2 separate regions of the Homo sapiens genome follow, and region 2 is linked to region 1. Evidence: promoter capture Hi-C in 16 types of primary human blood cells and fetal thymus (Javierre and others, 2016). All regions are on one chromosome and are shown on one strand. Each heading gives the region's core, a stretch centred on a gene start or on the middle of the fragment in contact. The rest is flanking DNA. Distances are from core to core; before and after follow the strand shown.

Region 1 (6,183 bases), core at 3,684-6,183:
TTGTTCTCTAAGTTGCAGTCATGAGTAGTCACCTTCCATGCACTTGTATTAGTTTGCTAGGCCTGGTGAAACAAAGTACCACCTTCTGAGTGGCTTAAACCACAGAAATGTATCATCTCACAGTTCTGGAGGTGTATTAGGGTTCCTCAGAGACACAGAATCAATAGGATAGAGATAGATAGATAGATAGACTAGATAGATGATTGATAGATGGATAGATAGATAGATAGATAGGAGATTTATTATGGGAATTGGCTTACATAATTATGGAGGCCAAGAAGTCCCACGATCTGCCGTCTGCAAGCTGGAGACCCTGAAAAGCTGGTGGTGGAATTCAGTCAGAGGCCAAAGGGCGGAGAACCTAGGGGTGGAGTAGGGAGGGGGAAGCACGCTCTCATGTAAGTGCTGGAATCCTGAGGCCCGAGAACCAGGAGCTCTGAAGTCAGGGGGCAGGAGAAGATGGATGTGCCAGCTGGAACAGAAGGAGCATATGTGCCCTTCCTCCTGTTTGTTCGCGCTCTCCAGAGATAGGGTGATGCACGTGGGTGAGGGCAGATCTTCTTTACTCTAAGGATTCAAATGCTGATCTTGTCCAGAAACACTCTGAGAGATGCACACAGACATACTGTCTTACCAGCTATCTGGGCATCCCTTAACCCAGTCAAGCTGCCACTTAACATTAACCATCACAGGGGGCTAGAAGTCTAAGTCAAAGCTTTGGCAAGATTGGTTCCTTTTGAGGGCTGTGAGGAAGAATCTGGTCCAGGCTCCTCCACCAGCTGCCGGTGCTTTGCTGGTCATCTTTGGCATTTCTTGGCTTGTAGAAGCATCACCCAAATCTTTGACTTCAGTTCACATGGTGTTCTCCTTGTGTGTGTCTGTGTCCAAATTTCCCCTTTACATAAGGACACCAGTCATATTGGATTAAAGCCCACTCCAGTATGATCTCCTCTTAACTAATCATATCTGCAATGACCCTATTTCCAAAGAAGGTCACATTCTGGGGTACTGGGGCTTAGAACTTCAGTATACGAATTTTAAGGAGGCACAAGGTGTCCGTGACAGTGCTGTGTTAAGTGACTGGAAGGATGAATTTCCTTTTTCACTTGCACTTTCTTTCTTGAAGTTTTGTTTGAAGCTGCTTGAAGACATCTCTGCATCCTGTCTTATGTGGATGCTACTCCCACTGCAGAGATTATTCGAGAGGTTGGAAAGGTTGGAAAAGAAAGAGAGGATGCTTTTGAAGGGAGAAGGGTAAGAGTACAGACAAGGGAAGCTGTATTAGTCTGTCTGTTCCCACACTGCCAATAGAGACATGCCTGAGACTAGGTAATTTATAAAGAAAAAGAGGTTTAATGGACTCACAGTTCCACATAACTGGGGAGGCCTCACAATCACGGCGGAAGGCAAGGAGGAGCAAAGTCACAGCAGGCAAGAACATTTGCAGGGGAACTCCCCTTTATAAAACCATCAGATCTCATAAAACTTATTCACTGTCACGAGAACGGCACAGGAAAGACCCACCCCCATGATTCAGTTACCTCTCACCTGATCCCTCCCATGACATACGAGAATTATGGGAGCTACAATTCAAGATGAGATTCAGGTGGAGAGACAGCCAGACTGTATCAGAAGCTTTGCCAAGAAGACCCGGAGAGTAGCAGGAACTCTCCTCTGTTCTTTGGCATTACCCTGTGAAGGCTGTGTGGCTCACCTGGGGACTGTGCCTCTGGCAGGAAAGTCTTGTGCTGTCTGCTCCTGAGAGAAGGCATGGCTTCTGGAATGAGATGATCAGTAGCACAGATGGGCTGAAGATGAGACGTTACATTCCACATTCCCAGAACCATAATATCCCCCAGATTCCTCTGTGTCCTTAAGGAGAGAAAGTCAGAATGAGAACTGACATTTGATTTCCTGCTACTCTAGAGAAACAAGAAATGGAATTTGTTAATTTTTAAAATAAAAAAAGTGAATTTTCTATATTTATGGAATGTGTGATTACAAATTCACATAAACTTCCTTGTCTAATTTTTTTTCTTTTCTTTTTCTTTTTCTTTCTTTTTTTTTTTTTTTGAGACTGAGTTTCGCTCTTGTTGCCAGGCTGCAGTGCAGTGGTGCGATCTCGGCTCACCGCAACCTCTGCCTCTGGGGTTCAAGCGATTCTCCTGCCTTAGCCTCCCGAGTAGCTGGGATTATAGGCATGTGCCACCACGCCTGGCTAATTTTGTATTTTTAACAGAGACAGGGGTTTCTCCATGTTGGTCAGGCTGGTCTTGAACTCCCAACCTCAGGTGATCTGCCTGCCTCGGCCTCCCAAAGTGCTGGGATTACAGGCATGAGCCACCACACCCAGCCCCTTGTCTAATTTTTTAAAAAAAATTCAAGTGTGGGTCTTGAGCTTCCCTTGATTTTCTGTCTAGAAGAGAAGTGTCAGAACGGCTATCTGCTTTCCCAGCTTCTGGGCCATTTGCTGCAGCACTGAGTCGCCAGCCTGCTTCGCATGAGCAGGGAAATTTTGCCCATCTAGGTAATCAGGAAGAGCTTGTTCAATGAGTGAAGGGTGAGTCATACTGCATTGGCACAAACTCTTGGCAACAATGAGTGTCCTTTACAATGGGCTCTATGGGACAGCCCTCTGGGGGAGATGGGCCAGCCAGACCTGAGTAAGGGGCTGGACTGAAAACTGACAGTGACAGGTGGAAGTGAACTTGAGAGACCCAACAAACTTCTTGTTGGAGAGAACTAGGACAGCTGCTCAGAGGCAAAGCTCAGAGTAGAGGATTTCACTCAGTATTTATTGAGCACTTATTATGTTCAAGGCCCTAAGAGGGAATATGTAGAAAAATGCTGTTCTCTAGAATCGTAAGATCTAAGCATCAGAAAGTGAATGCCACAAACATTAAGTGTGGCAGATGCCATGATCAACACAGACAAAGACTAAGTATTACACCAGCTCAGAGATCAGAGATCTAGGGATGGGGAACTCCATGATAGGCCGGGAAGTCTTTGCAGGGAAATCTGCATCTGAGTGCCTTTTGAGGCCTGCTGCAAACAAAACTTTCAATGCCAGTGTCCCCTCTCACTATCTCCCCAACAATGGTTGCATTCACAAAGACAGAGCAGGGGAATGAAGTCACATGTATTACCACATGAGCAATTACAAGTCTCAGTTGGGTCAGGGCATTTTTGCACCTTAACTCTCTTCCTGCAGCCCCAGATGCTCCTTTGCAGTCCCCCAGCTTGAGTGTTATACGTCTGTGTTCCATGAGAATGCCTGCATCTTAATACAGACCCCTTTATTGTGGGGAACACAGCACAACGTCTGTGCATTTGCAGTCACCCACCTGTGCATCCCCTGAATCCTTCATTCATAAGTAGTACTCAACCAGGAACTTCTTTGGTATCCCAGCTCGGACACGGGAGGTGTGAATATATTTTTCATAAAGCCCAGGCCTTTATGCAGAACGATTTTCATCCTCTAGTGAGAGGCTGAAGTAACAAAGTGCTGTTGTTAAGATTCTTCCCATTGTGCATTTTTCTTGAATAATGACATTTCTAAAAAGAATCTGAAACTGAGGCATTAGAAGGCAAGTGCTCGTTCATATATTTGAAGAGGTCAAATATTTACCAGAATAACTTCTCAATACAGAGGGGACAGCTTTATTTTATTTTACTATAAAGATGTATGTGTAGCAGAAGACAAATTATGCAGAGCTTTGAGTTAGTTAAGAATCATCTGATTTAATTCTTTGGAGAAATGAGACAAATTGTAGCTAAGGACTATGGAGTTGTTTTAGTTTGCCAGTTATATTTAATTTGACTATTTCTTTATTTATTGAGAGACAAAGTCTCACTCTGCTGCCCAGGCTGGAGTGCAGTGATGCAAACACAGCTCACTTCAGCCTTGACCTCCTGGGCTCAAGCAGTCCTCCTGCCTTGGCCTCCCAAAGTGCTGGGCTTACAGGTGTAAGCCATGGCACTTGGCCTATTTGACTTGTTTAATCCCTCCGAAGAACTCATACATACTATTGCCACCTCATTTTCCACGTAAGAAAATGGAAGCACGAAGACCTTAATAACTTGCTTAATGGCTAGTAGGTGGTAGAGCTTGAATTTAGACCACACAGTGTGGAGGGTATGCTATTAAGGAAAAACGATGTTCTAGTGGGGTTTCCATTTAATATTGCAGAAAAAAGAATCTATATATTTAAGAAGGTGTTATTTCATGCACACTCGTAGGTTTTGTTCATATATGCACATCTGACGTATAATTTAACATTTGTGTAACTTCAAGCTTCTATGGGGAGTGGCAGAAGATGCAGGAATTCTATTAATACCTTCGCAGATCTTAGATTCCAACAAGCTGGATACCTTAAGAAAAATAAAGAAATTGCTGTGCTTGGATCCCAGATGTCCATTCCACCTTTTGGGACCTCCCGGGGGGCCCTCTTTTCTTCATCCTTCAAGACAAGGATAGTGGGGTGAACAGACAGACTTTCCTTGCGAGGGTTGGCTCAGGAAGGCTCTGGGCTCATCTCACAGCCGCCCCAGCGAGGGTCGGGGAGGCAGGTGCTGGCTCCGGTGGGGTCTGCGGCAGAGCAGGACTGGAGCCCAGGGCGCAGCTGCACAGCTCAACGCCGGTTCGCGCCCTGGTTTACAGCGTTGGGCTGGGTCACCCCTTCTTTCCTAGCTTGCTGCTGTGTGTTCCCTCGGTGTAGGAATCAGGGGAGTGTCTTCTGGAGGCCACTAAAGCAGGAATAGCATTTTCATGTTAGCGTGCACGGGCGGTCTCCGCAGCCCCTCCTCGTGCCGGAGCCTGTCCTGGGGCCTGCGGGGCGGCTCCGGGCCTCGGGCCGGCGCAGGCGGGCGGCAGGGGGCGCTGTGCGGCTCGGCGCGGGGGCGGGGCCGGGGCCGAGCCTCCCGCGTGCCCGGCCTCTGTGCGCGCTCGCGCCCCGCCCGCGCAGCCGCTTCTCCCCGCGCGGGCTCTCGGCAGGCGGGAGGCGGCAGGGCTGGCATTGCAGTGCGGGCCGTGCGGGCTGCGCGGGCGCGGGGAGGCGCGGGCGGCAAACTGCGGGCACCCGGCACCCCGCAGCCAGTACCGGGCGGAGGCGTCAGAGCCGCGCACCGCGGACGAGCAGGCCCAGGTAGAGTGACGCGCGTCCCCTTTGTGTCCGCATCGCCCGGGCCGGCCGCGGAGCGGGGAGGGCGGGACGCGGCGCTGCGCGGCCGGCCTTGGGGCTCGGGGCTTGCGGCCGCGCCTGCCCCGCTGGGTCCTGCCCCGGCGCCCGGTGGCAGCGGGCGGGGGGCAGCGTCCCGGGCGGGGACTCGCGGGCTCCGTTCAGAGGACGCCCGCCCTGCCCTGCCCGTGTCCCTGACCTCGTCCCTGCTCTGCTCCTGCCCTGCCCTGCCTCTCGCAGGCGGCGCCCGCGCCCCAGGGCAGTGGGCGCTTAGGGACCTGGCGTCCCCCTGCCTGCCCTGCGCGGTCGCGGGTCTGCGCTGCGGCGCGGGACAGGGCGCCCCGGGCCAGGGTCCCGCGGGCGAGCTGGCGGCGGGGGCTTTCAAGGTTCGCGGCCCCGCCCGCAGACCCTGGGGCTGGAGCCTCGGCCCCAAGAGGAGGTCTGGGAAAGGACGACGCGTCCGGGGCATCGCCACCGGCGGGGAAGGTCGGAACTGGCCAAGAGGATGCCCCGCACATCCCCTGCGCGCGGGGTCCGCGGCTGCTACTGCCCCTGGTCCCCACCGCGAGCCCTTTCCCGGGGAATGAGCCGCCGCCCGAGCCCCGGAGTTCCCTGCGGGTCTTACCCACCCCAGCCTCCGGCCGCCGACCCCAAGCCCCCTGCACTGTGCTTGGCTCCCAGCTGTTTGGTCGCTTATGCCATCCTGGAGGCTTCCTGGTCCTGGGGTGAAGGGGTGACTTCTTTACCCTAATGGTCTTCGTAGGCAGGTCTCAGGATGTCCACTCCAAAGTTCGTGGTCTTTTTTCTAGAGAATAATAATTTTTAAAATCCATTGAACTGGCCGGGCGCGGTGGCTCACGCCTGTAATCCCAGCACTTTGGGAGGCTGAGGCGGGCGGATCACGAGGTCAGGAGATCGAGACCACGGTGAAACCCCCTCTCTACTAAAAATACAAAAAATTAGCCGGGCGCAGTGGCGGGCGCCTGTAGTCCCAGCTACTCGGGAG
Region 2 (6,183 bases), core at 1,373-3,872, 1.6 Mb after region 1:
TATGAATACAGTACACGGGCAGTCCATTTTAACTGCTGTATAGTATTCTACTGCCTCATAAACAATTCGCTTATCCTGTGTCCTGAGGTGGACATTTAGGATGTTTCCAATTTTCTTGATATTACAGTGCCACATTGACGTTTTTACACAGAACTTCTACACACACATGAGAAATTCCCCGGGGTACATCCCTAGAAGTAGAATTGCTGAGTCAAAAGTGTGCGGTTCTCCCCATTTGCCAAATATTGCCAAATTGCTCTCCAAAGAGTCTGTACCAATTTACGTTTCCACACAGCGACTCGTGATGGTTTGCGTTGCTTCACGTCTTCCCCGTTACTGGGGATGAAAGGATTTGAATTCTTGCCAGCCTGATGGGTGAGGTGGAATCTCACTGTTGCTCTGATTTGCATTTCCCTGGGCTGAACTTGTTCTCATATATTTACTGGCCTATCAAGCTTCCCCCTCTATTCTTTACCCGGTTTTCTCTTTGTTGTTTGCCTTTCCTAATTTTGAAAGAGTTATTTATATATTCTTTTTTTTAACTTTTTTTGTAACAGCTTTATTGAGATATAATTCATGTGCCATACAACTCACCCACTTAAAGTGTACATTCCAGTGGCTTTGACAATATTCGCAGAGTTGTGCATCCATCACCACAATCAATTTTAGGATTTTTTCATTAGCCCAAAAAGAAACACTTTAGCCCTCAGCCCCAGGGCCCTTCACTCCTCCATGGCCCTGGCCACCATGCTTCTGTTTTCAGTCCCTCTAAATATGCCTGCTCTACACGTTGCATGGAAATGGAGTCATACAGTGTGTGATCTCCTGTGTCTGGCTTCTTTCGCCGAGCATAAATGTTTTCAAGATTCGTCCATGGTGTAGCATCTGTCAGTACTTCATCTATTTTTTCACTGTGGTAAAATATACATAACATAAAATGTATCATTTCAACCATTTTTAAGGATACAGCTCAGTGGCATTAAGTACATTGGTGTGGTTGACCAACCATCCCCACTCTCCACCTCCGGAACTTTTTCATCTTCTCAAACTGAAACTCTGTCCCATTCGACACTCACTCACCGTTTCTCTCTCCCTCATCCCCTGGAACCCATCATTCTACTTTTTGTGTCTGTGAATTGGACTACCCTAGGTATCTCATGTAAGTGAAATCACACAATATTTCCTTCATGTACACTGTCTTCGCATAATTGTGCATAATTGCGCCTTAGCACGATGTCTTCAGGGTTCATCTGTGCTGTAGTGTGTGTAGGAATGTGCTGTTTCTTTTTTTTTTTTTTTTTTTTTTTTTTTTTTGAGACAGAGTCTTGCACTGTCACCCAGGCTGGAGTGCAGTGGTGTGATCTCAGCTCACTGCAACCTCCGCCTCCTGGGTTCATGCCATTCTCCTGCCTCAGCTTCCCAAGTAGCTGGGACTACAGGCACCCGCCACCACGCCTGGCTAATTTTTTTTTTTTTTTTTTTTTTTTTTTGTATTTTTAGTAGAGACGGGGTTTCACCATGTTAGCCAGGATGGTCTCGATCTCCTCACCTCGTGATCCGCCCGTCTCGGCCTCCCAAAGTGCTGGGATTACAGGCGTGAGCCACCACACCCGGCCAGAATGTGCTGTCTTCTTAAGGCTGGAGAGTATTCCGTTATATGGATACTGTGCATTTTCTTTGCCTGTTCAACCACTGGTGCACGCTAGGGTTGTTTCCACCTTTTGGCTCTTAGGAATAGCGCTGCTGTGAGCACTGGTGGGCACATATTTATTTGAGTCCCTCCCTTCAATGCTTTGGGGTGTATACACAGAAATAGAGTTGCCAGATCATATGGTAACTCTATATTTAATTTTTTGGGGAGCTGCTATACTGTTTTCCTACATATATATTCTTAGCACTTGTTTTTTCTTAGTTATGTTTGTTGCAAATACCTTCCCCCAATATATGGTCATCTTTATCTTTCTTGCCTAGGAATTGTAGTTTTAATATCAAATGTATGAATCTTGCCTTTACGGCCATTGCTTGTTGTATTTTGTTTAAGATGCTTTTCTACCCAATGTTGGAAGGTATTCTATCATTCCACTTTTGTGTATAAATCTTTAATCTATCTGAATTGACATATTTATTTGTTGTGAGGTAAAGAGCTAATTTAACTTTTTTTCCCATTTGGATAACCAAATGTCCCAAACAGCAAATATTTCCCACTGATGCGTAACTCTGCCTCTGTCCTAGACCAGCGAATCTTTCGGCCAGTTTGGCCAATTGATCTGCTTTCTGTTCCTGCCTTGATGCTGCACTGTCTAAATGACAACAGCTTTTTAATAAGTCAATGCTTGGAAAGCAAATCCCACAGCATATTTTTTCCATTAAAATTGTCTTCATTTGGTCCTTTACTCTTGCATGTAGGTTTTAGGATTATCTATGCAAACTCCATGAACGCCATTGACTTTAGAGTTGAATGTTAAAGTGTGCACGGAAATCCTCATGATATTTTACCTTCCCTTCCATGATTCCAAGATCCCAATTCCACCTGCTTCATTTTGTAAACAAGGACATGTTGGCATTCCCACAGCCATACAGGGACAGTGAAAGAGACCAGGCCAGCGGCCTTGGCATATTACTCCTTCCACCAACTTCAAATAGGAACTTCCCCACCCTAATGCCAGAGCTTTGCCCTCTATTCCCTTTCCACCTGCGCCCAGGCATTAAGTCACTCATTCATTCAGTTAGCATTGTTGAGTGTCAACAGGCCTTTGGGCTATGGTTGTGGTCACACTTCCTACTTCCAGGAGCCTGCAATAGGACACAGCTCTGAGGACTGAGCTGAGCCCCACAGTTATCTCTTGAGAGTTAAAACTGGCTCTGAGCCCCTGTGTATGGTCAGTGAAGATGGGAGACACAGCGGGTGGGAAGAAAGAGACAATGGTGCAGGGCATGGAAGGGGCATTGGGGGTCAGCGGCTGTGTGTGACTCACGCCAACCAACCCACAGGAAACCAAGTAGAGAAACCAGAATGTCAATGCATTAATTTTTAACTGAAACAAAAGATGACCACCAACTTTACCAGCGCTTACTTCCTGTGGCCAAACATTTGCTCCGTGTAGACAAATTACACTGGGAAACCAAATGATAATCAGAAGTTTGCTCAACAACCTTGGAGGGAAAAGAGTGAGAATTGTTTCCAATTTGAAGGCGTCCTAACATCACGTGAACTCATTTCTATGGCAAGGCATTGCTGGCAGCTACAGTGGACCCACCTCTAGGCCGGGAGCCCTCCCTGTACCGGGAGGACACTGTGTCTGTGTCTGCCTCTCTGCTTCTTCTGAAACATTCAGCCCATTCTCCAGAAACACAAACCCTGTCTTTGCACGTGATCATGCTCTGAACATGGCTGTAGTAAAAGTATGTTCAGAAGACAGCCAGGGTGTTTTGCTCCTCTGATTTGACTTATAATTTAACTCTTTAAACAAGTTATTTCTAATTTCTTGGGGACAGGAAGAATGTGCATTTGGCCGGCAAAGGAACTGAGGCTCAAGAGTTCACAGGACTCAACTATCCCAGGCTACCCAGATGATGGCTGCCAAACTGGATTACAACCCAGGTTTTAATCTAAACTAAATCCAACTAAAAAGGAGTAAATGTCTGAAAATGCCAGTCAAAGCACGAAAGGTTAAGTGGCTAAATTTGGCACCTAACCACATCAACCTCTGTGGCTAAGAAGCTGGAAAGTGGAGACCCTGACTTCTACTCCTTTATAACTTCCCACAGTACCTGGTCCAAAATGTGCTCAGGCAGGCTATTCATACGTGTTGACAGCTAAGTAACCCCCTTCCCCAGATGGTCCCAAACATCCACAGAGGCCTAAGGCTAAACCACATATTTTTTTCCCTTTTCCCTTCAAGTCACCTTTCAACCCACACCAGGACTCCTTCAGGGAACAGCTGGGGGTCCCTGAGTCTCTTGCTGGAGGGTCTGCACCATCCTCTCCCTGTCCCAAAGTTCTCTGAGTCTCTGGACCTTTCTGTCCCCCTGTCTTCCCCACTTGGACTCTACTTCATCTTAGAGATGCTCCCATCGGGTTTGGGTTGGTGACGGTTATCCTTAGAGGCACAGGTGGGTCCTACCTCCATCCTGGACCAGGGCACCCTTCCTTCACGGTGGCCATCCCCTCATTGCTAGCAAAGCCTCTGTGGCTCCCTGTCCCACTGAAGATTCCCACCCTGCCAGGACTTTGGAGCAGAAGGAAAATTCCATCTGGCCTCACATTTCACAGGTACTTCTTGAGTGCCTGGGATTTAACCTCTCAGCTCCTCAGTTTCTCCATCTGTAAAAGTAAAGGAGGTCAGGTTGGATGATCTCTAAGCTCCCTTCCATCTCTGTTCATTGGTGATTCTCAGTGCATGAACATTTTTAAGGATCACTGGAAGGGAGTATAACATAAATAATCAATTTAGTGAAAACACATACATTCCAATGAAATGCAAATTTCTTTAAGATGACTATAGCAGTAGTGTAAAGTGAGTCTGGGTGATAGCATGGAAGTCATCCCTATACCACCTGCAAAGGGACTGCCCTCAGGGAAAAATAACTGAGTAGTAAAGGAAAAGGAAGTGATGCTATTTTATCATGTCGACTTCCAGGTATATTGTTTTAAGCTATTTGATGTTTTGGCTTTTATGGTAGGAAAAAACATCTACCTGTAGAATGTTCAAATGAGTTGTCCATTTTCACGTGCACATTACAAACCAGAAGAACATTTATCATATAAGGTAATGGAAGCCTGTTTATGTAAGCTTGTTATGTTCAAGGCAACAAATTCAGAGTGTGTAGGCTGTACGTACAATGCAGTTTTTAAATCTGCTTACATTAAAAATTCTTTCTTTTCTGACATCTTCTGGTTCCTTTTTTCCTTATCACAAGGTTTCCTGAGCTGGGCTCCATAGACATTAAGAGACTTCTGGATGCACCTCAGAGGTGCCCTCAGCCCCCTAAAGTTGTGGGGCATATGCACTCTTTCATAGTGGCTTTCATCTGATTTTCAAAGGGACCCTTGCCCCGCAAAGTGGCCTCTGATTATGCTTCTCGTTCATAGGCAGGGGAGAAAAATTTCCCAACAAGACCTGTATATGGATAAGCCACCTAGCAGAAAGAATCTCAATTCTGGATCAGAGAGACCTGGGTTCACGTCAATTTGCCAGCTGAACTCTACTTTTGGACAAGTTAATTAAATACTGTGATTCTGAGCTGCCTCCTTTCTGTAAAATGTGGGTGATAGCATTTGTCTAGTTTACGAGTTACTGTGAGGATGAAATTATTTGCTCTCTGTAAGCCCCAGCACACCATTTGTGCTCAATGGCTGGTAGACCCCTCAACACTAAGGAAAACCAGAGCTGCCTCCCCAGGGTAGCTCCCAGCTCACCAGCACATCCTGCAGAGCTGTAAGACTAAAATGCAAGCACAACTCAGTCAACTAAACCTCACTGAAATCAATGTTTCTTTGCCTTCACAAGTTCGATTTCTCCTCAAGATGGTTTCTATGCAGTCCCCGTGAGAGTTGACTGAGAATCACCATACACCAGATGTCTAATCCCCAGGTTCCAACACCTCCCTCATGCAGCCACTATAAGAGGAAAAATGGCTTCCACACCCACCCAAAATCTTCGCTGCAATGCTGTTTTGTCCTTCCACCTTGGCCAATAAAGCCACTTCCTTGTGCTTGAGGCACCTCAGTATCCCACTTCTACTTCTTTCTTGACTTTCATTTCTTATACCTTGTCTTGAGCCACATCCTCTGTGCTAGAAACAGCTCCCACTTCCTGCTGGCCCAGCACCTCTGAGCACTTCCTCTCCATGGCTATACTCTTTCAGGAGTTTCTACACCCATATCACTGGGGGCTGTTTCTAAACCCTCCTCCGGTTGGGAAAGTGGAAAGTTGGTAAGTTCCCTGTAAAATATGCTGTGTGCTAGAGACCAGGAGGCCTGTCCAGTTCCCTATGTCCAATATGGGACAGCTCAGAACCTCTCATTCCCACCTCTAAGCAAAAGCAAGAGTTTTCATGTGAGTTTCTGAAACTTGGCACTTAATGCTGTTGTTCTCATGGTGTTGAGATAAGGAATACGGGTCAGTGTATGAACTCCAGCTTCCCCACTAACCGGCCTGCGATCTTGAGCCCTTAACCTCT

What was found. The method cuts DNA at HindIII sites, captures the fragments that hold promoters and counts their contacts. A CHiCAGO score of 5 or more calls a contact.
Region 2: a contact is called between a fragment that was not itself captured here and the fragment with the promoter of RNF144A in region 1, in 1 of 17 cell types (non-activated CD4 T cells). The highest score is 7.0, in non-activated CD4 T cells.

What each region holds. Positions count from the first base shown.
Region 1 is chr2:6,912,479-6,918,661 of GRCh38, forward strand. It overlaps RNF144A (ring finger protein 144A), which reads left to right and starts at 4,934. Exons shown (of 9, transcript NM_014746.6): 1 at 4,934-5,144. It overlaps GRASLND (glycosaminoglycan regulatory associated long non-coding RNA), which reads right to left. Exons shown (of 5, transcript NR_033997.1): 1 at 5,924-6,183; 2 at 4,372-4,746; 3 at 3,345-3,489; 4 at 1,715-1,872; 5 at 1-1,186. RefSeq lists a silencer at 4,774-5,263. The HindIII fragment of the contact is 2,406 bases long and covers 4,293-6,183 here.
Region 2 is chr2:8,467,017-8,473,199 of GRCh38, forward strand. No RefSeq gene overlaps it. Among named protein-coding and RNA genes, the nearest start is that of LINC01814, 110 kb to the right of the region's middle. The HindIII fragment of the contact is 4,338 bases long and covers 454-4,791 here.